Regions from separate parts of the Homo sapiens genome. Here region 1 is linked to region 2. The links are contacts of gene promoters, found by promoter capture Hi-C in blood cells and fetal thymus (Javierre and others, 2016). All regions are on one chromosome and are shown on one strand. Each heading gives the region's core, a stretch centred on a gene start or on the middle of the fragment in contact. The rest is flanking DNA. Distances are from core to core; before and after follow the strand shown. Region 1 holds the start of GMPPA (GDP-mannose pyrophosphorylase A). Region 2 holds the start of SMARCAL1 (SNF2 related chromatin remodeling annealing helicase 1).

Evidence for each region. Contacts are between HindIII fragments. The CHiCAGO score rates a contact against its expected background, and 5 or more counts as called.
Region 1: the fragment with the promoter of GMPPA here is called in contact with the fragment with the promoter of SMARCAL1 in region 2 in 1 of 17 cell types (neutrophils); the score reaches 8.0 in neutrophils.

What each region holds. Positions count from the first base shown.
Region 1 is chr2:219,497,214-219,500,204 of GRCh38, forward strand. GMPPA (GDP-mannose pyrophosphorylase A) reads left to right here and starts at 1,678. Exons shown (of 13, transcript NM_013335.4): 1 at 1,678-1,725; 2 at 2,743-2,802; 3 at 2,908-2,991. The coding sequence starts at 2,763. SPEGNB (SPEG neighbor) reads left to right here. Exons shown (of 5, transcript NM_001286811.2): 4 at 507-648; 5 at 838-1,074. The coding sequence ends at 976. All of the region lies in intron 1 of ASIC4-AS1 (ASIC4 antisense RNA 1), which reads right to left. RefSeq lists enhancers at 1-735, 736-1,553, 1,558-1,747 and a silencer at 648-727. The HindIII fragment of the contact is 29,233 bases long and covers 1-2,991 here.
Region 2 is chr2:216,411,068-216,413,908 of GRCh38, forward strand. SMARCAL1 (SNF2 related chromatin remodeling annealing helicase 1) reads left to right here and starts at 1,417. Exons shown (of 18, transcript NM_014140.4): 1 at 1,417-1,581; 2 at 2,789-2,825. SMARCAL1-AS1 (SMARCAL1 antisense RNA 1) reads right to left here and starts at 1,433. Exons shown (of 5, transcript XR_001739881.1): 1 at 1,358-1,433. RefSeq lists enhancers at 1,179-1,473, 1,217-1,306, 1,437-1,526. The HindIII fragment of the contact is 8,553 bases long and covers 1-2,841 here.

The DNA.
Region 1 (2,991 bases), core at 428-2,927, 3.1 Mb after region 2:
GCTACAGGGTCCCCGCCAGCCCAGCTCTGGGCACGGCCTGGGGCGCATCGCCGCGCCAGCCAAGTGCGTCCTTCCCTACCTCGGGATCCAGCTCCACCCGGGCTGAGCAGTCAGCTGTGGACTTCCATCACGCGGCTCCGGGTCCCCAAGGTCACACAGCAAGCCAGAGGCAGAGCCAGGGTTGGACCCGGGTCTTCTGGCTCCCAACTCTGGCAATTTCCACTACCCGGAGCGGTCTCTGAGGCACCGCGAGATGTGTGAACATTCAGGGGCTTTCGCCCGCCTTATCTCTCTTGATCCTCTATTCGACCCCGAGAAGTAGGAGAGGCAGGGATAAGTCCCTTTAACAGCCAAGGAGATGAAACCAGAGAGGCTAATGATTTGCTCAACGTCACACTGCGAGTTTAAATGCATCTGTATTTAGTGCCGGGTATTAGCCGGTGAGGTGATGCCCTGCCTCATCTCCGGGTCCTTCACGGGGTTTCGCTCCCCTTTCCTTCCGCTAGTCCCGACGAAGATTCAAAAGGGACCCGACAACACTAAGGCGCGCAAAGGCACCACCGTGACGCTGACTGCGGAGATCCTGGGAGAGCCTGCGCCCGACGTAGGCTGGACCAAGGACGGGGAGGACATCGAGGAGGATGACAGGCGAGGGCCGGGACCTGCGGCACGGCCAGGGCCTGGGGCTGGAACCTGGGTGGGACTGAGCCCAGAAATCTGGCTGGAGTGACGGGGGCGGGGACTGGGCAGCGAGGAACAGAGCTGGCTAAGGAGCCCCGCCCAGTGCGCCCGTGTACTGACCACGGCTCCGCCCTCCTCCCCGCCGCCCTTCCGCAGGGTGTTCTTCGAGATCGGCAGCACCACCACGACGCTGACCATTCGCCGGGCCACGCCTCAGGACAGCGGCAAGTACGAGGTGTACGTGGAGAACAGCCTGGGCATGGACCAGAGCTTCGCTCGCGTCGACGTGGCCTGAACGGCACCCCCGGACCTTCCGCCCTGGCGCCGAGCCCGGGGGTGGTGGGACCCACAGCCCTCCACCAGCTTGCTTAATAAAGCTGCTCTCTGACCCTCCGCGTCTGTCCTGCTCTTCCGCGTCGCCATTCCCTCTCCCCCGCACCAGCGCCCACACGTATTCCAGACCCCCACGCCAAGGTCACAGCCTGTTGGAGTCACAGGGAGGTCTGGAGAGCGCCTAGCGCCGTGCTGCATTTCAGACAGTCAAACTGATAAGAGTTGCCCTCGCCGTCCAAGGCGCCCTCACTTCCCAGCGGTACCGCCGGCTGGGCCTGGGACTCCGCCTTCTCCGCTTTTGAGCGCCTCCAGCCCCAGCCCCTTGTGGCTGTTTGCCCCTGGCCCCGCCCCTTCCAGGGCTGGCCACACACCCCTGCTGTCCTTAGTCCCGTTTTCCTGTGGGACCCAGTTCCTCACTTCGGCTGCTGCCCCGAGGCCGATTCCCCAACAGCTCGGGTCCCAGTCTTAAGTTCCAGGCTGGGCTTCTCAGGCCCCACCCTTCTTCGCATTTAACCCCGCCCCGCGATCCCTTGGTCACACCCCTGGACTTCAGCACCTCTTTCCTCTCCCATAAAGTTAGAAAGCGGGTAAAGGGTCAGACTACAATTCCCGGCAGACCCTGCGAATGAGTTCTCGCGACTTGCGAGAAGACACGTGCGCGGAAGGAGCTTGCAGTAGCGGGCGGCAGAGCTGGAGTGAAGGGAGCTAGTGGTAAAGGGAGCTGGTGGAGGGGTGGCGGCAGGGGTAAGGGGCAGGGGACACCCTCTAGACGGAGAGCGGGCTCCGAGGTCCTGGCTGGCCCTCGGTGCGCCCGCCCCTGTGTTGGTCCCACAATCCCTGGCAATGAGAGGCCAGGGTTTATTGGACAGAGTCAGTTGTGGGGTTCAGAGGGTCAGCAATCAATCAATCCTCCGAATCCAGAGATTTAGACCCAGTCGTCCGTATTAGGACTGGAGGGGGGTCAATAGGTTCAGTGTTTGAGATGCCAAGGGAACCTGTCTTTTGATTTGGGGTTCAACATACAGAGGTTAGTTTTAGGATTCATGTTTAGCATATAGAGGATTTTTGCTGGGATTAGGGGTTCTTCAAATTCAGATCAGTGTTAGTTCAGTACTTGGGGATTACGTTCAGGATTTAAGTTAAATATCTGAGGCTCACTCAGGGTTTGCTGTCCAATATTCAGGGTTCACTATTGGGGTTCAGGGCTTAATATCTAGAATGAAGACGCAACACTTTGGGAATTTGAGGCTTCAGTATTTTGAGGTTTGGGTCTGAGAAGGGAGTCTCTGCCAGGTTTCTGAATTTGCAGAATTTGTTCATGGCCAGAGGGAAGTCTTTTAGAGATCAAATTGTGGGGTGTGAATTTCAGAATTTGGGAGGAATCACTGTGAGGTTTGAAGGCCGACTGGAATCTGGGTTGGGATTTGAGATGTGTGGGATTTGTGAGGTTCTGTCCAGGCAGGGACTATATTGAGCTTTGGGTTTACATCTTGGGGGAGGGCTAAGTGCTGCTATTTGGGGTTTGGGGTTTGGTTGGGGTGTGAGATCTGAGCTTGATTTCTCTGCTGGGATTTGAGATGTGTGGGATTTGTGAGGTGTTGGGTCCAGGCAGAGACTATATTGAGCTTTGGGTTTACATCTTGGGAGAGGGCTAAGTGTTGCTATTTGGGTTTTGGGGCTTGGTTGGGGTAGGAGATCTGAGCTTGATTTCTCTGTTGGAATTTGAAGTTTAGGTAGCAGTCACCATTATGCTCAAAGCGGTGATCCTGATTGGAGGCCCTCAAAAGGGTGAGGTGCCAGGGGAATGGGGGGAGGAGGTTGGGCTGGAGTGGTAGGCGGGATGGGGGCAGAGGAAGGCAGGAGGCCGAAATGTTCTCCTCTCTCCTCTCCCAGGAACTCGCTTCAGACCTTTGTCTTTTGAGGTGCCCAAACCATTGTTTCCTGTGGCAGGGGTCCCTATGATCCAACACCATATTG
Region 2 (2,841 bases), core at 167-2,666:
AGATCCCCTAAGACAGGCAATGTCTTTGTCATTTAAGACAAATGGGCTGGGCGCAGTGGCTCACACCTGTAATCCCAGCACTTTGGGAGGCTGAGGCAGGTGGATCACTTGAGGTCAGGAGTTTGAGACCAGCCTGGCCAACATGGTAAAACTCTGTCTCTACTAAAATTACTAAAATCAGCCAGGCATGGCGGCATGCACCCATAATCCCAGCTATTTGGGAGGCTGAGGCAGGAGAATCATTTGAACCCAGGAGTCAGAGGCTGAAGTGAGCCAAGATTACACCACCACACTCAGTCTAGGCAACAGAGTGAGACTCTGTCTCAAAAAAAAAAAAAAAAAAAAAAAAAAAAAAAAAAAGGAAGGAAGGAAGAAGGGAGATTATTTATTGTTTCAAAAGTCACACAAATTCTACATTATTATTTTAGAAAATTCAAATCATTCTGAAAAATAGAGATTAAAAAGCTGAAAAGTGTATTTCATGCCACTCTGCTCCTGAACAGTTTGGTGACTTTTTAAGTTTCCTTCCCAGACCTTTATGAGTTTACATACATGTACAGGTAAGGATGAAAAAAAAAAAAATCAAACTACACACATTGCTGTGCTTCCTTTTTCTTAGCATGTCTGGTCCATTTTTTCAAATCCTTTAGTAGACTTGTTTGTTTTTAAATGAGCCATGTTTGAAAATAGAACAATAGCAACATTCATATGCACACTGATAGAGAAATGTTATATTTATCACCAATGGTGCTCAGGATGGCTCAGGATGTTGGTGCTCAGGATGGGGTAAAGTGACTCTTTAAGTCTCATGACTAATCTTCTCTCAAGAGGAGGGGCTATGGAATCAGAATCACAAGCTAGCTTAATAAAGCCTTGAGAAATATTATCAAATAGCTGTCTTAGTTTCCCCCTCTGTAAAAGGGGGACAAGAATGTGTTCCATAGGTTGTAGTGCGGTTAAATGAGGTAACTCATATTTATGCTAAACACAATGACTGATGACTACAATGATGACGATGATGGCAGCCGGGCGCAGCGGGTGGGGCTTAAATGGCAAGTATAGCAATACCAGGAATGGATGCCCCGGGGAGATACTTTTTATTAAGAGCTGCCAAGTTAGTATGGCTGTCTGGGATGTCCTCTGGAGACAGCCGACTCCGGGTTTGGAAACCTCAACGTCCTAGGCTTTCAGGACCTAGTGTTTGGCTAAACCTCTGGAGAACTACAACTTCCAGGGTGCACCACTTTCGCCCCGCCCATGACGTTGCAGCTCCCGTTTCTCGCCAGGCTCCCGGCCCGAACTACAAATCCCAGAAGACACTGCAGCCCCGCTCGCGTTCTCGTCTCATCATTCTTACTTTTGGAAGCGAAACTGCGGCCGCGTTGCCTGCTGGGAAATGTAGTTCAGCGGTGGCCTAGCCCTTCAGGCCTGGCCGCTACAATAAGGCTGGCGAACTCGCAGCGCTTGAATACCCGTGGCCTAACCGTCCACTCGGAAGACCGGTCCCGCTCGGGAGGCTCTGCAGTCGCGCCTGGGGTCAGGGCCGGGGGCGAATGTGGCTCGCGTTCTAGGCCTCCCTGGGTGAGAAAGTGGTAGACTGGCAGGAAGGCGGCGGAGGCGGACGAGACCAATGCCAGCCTGGAGGAGGAAGTGGGCCAATGGGAAGGGTGAATCCAAGTGGAGATCGTAGGGGTGGGAGTGGGGCGTGGCGCCCGCTTACCTTGAGGCTGGGTGAGGCTCGCCCCGAAATGCGGGGCGTGGGGGGCGGGGGGCAGAGGTCCCTGCCTAGAGGGGAAGAGGGGCGTCCATGTGGCGGAATGGATTTATGGTTTGGGGCTGATCAGTGGGTCTTATGGCCGAGTCTCTCTGGTTAGTGGAGACAGCTTACCAGGCCTGGGATCTGGGGAGTTTGGAGGTGCAGGAGATCCCTGGTTGGAAACTTAGGCAGGAGTGTGTTACCCAGAGAGACTGAGGGCTTCTGCTGTGCACCTCCAAAACCTTTTCCTAACCTCTTCACCCCTTCCTAACTGCTAATGGTTGGAGAAGGTGGAAGTTCTCTGGGGATAGATACTTCGTGGTGGGGGAGGGGGGAGGGGGGTTGGGTTCTGGCCAAAGGGAGCCCCAGCAGGGAAGGAAGGCTTTGAACCCTATAGCTGCCCAGAGGCCTAAGCAATGCTACTGGAGTACCCCTACATCATCATTGTAACCGTTACACAGCATTACATTAGATGCAGCCTATTTAGTCTGAACCAAGCCAGACAAATTGGTGTGTCCTGCCCGCTGCTTCTAAAATATTGTAAACATGTCTCAGCTCATAGGAAAATAAATGTTCCGGGTAAATTCATGGAAAAAAATAATCAGGGTGCAATATGGAATGTTTACAATGATCCTACTTTATAATAAATTCTTATATCTCCTAAATATGTGCCATTTTGTTATGGATGAAAAAAAATCCGAACTATATACTCTAAATTATTAATTTCAACTGTGGTTATTGATGGCTGGTAAGATTACAGAGTAATTTTATTCTTTTTTGTTTACATCTTTATGTAGCATCTTAATTTGCACAGTGAACACATAATTTTTTTTTTTCTGCTCCTTATTTTCCCAGGAGAGTCAGTCAGTTGCTCCGTGTGTTGTGTTGGAAGTCAGGTCCTAAGGCCAGCTGCTCTGGCTTGCACTGAGCCACAGGCAGACTGATTTGCCAGGAATGATAAAAAGGGGTGAATGTGAGGGGAGAATTCAGTGTGCAGGCTATGGGAGGCTAATGCTTTTTTCCTTCTTCTAGGTTGGAAAAAGACTATGTTAGCAAGTGTCACGCCATGGTATGTGGTTGGTTGG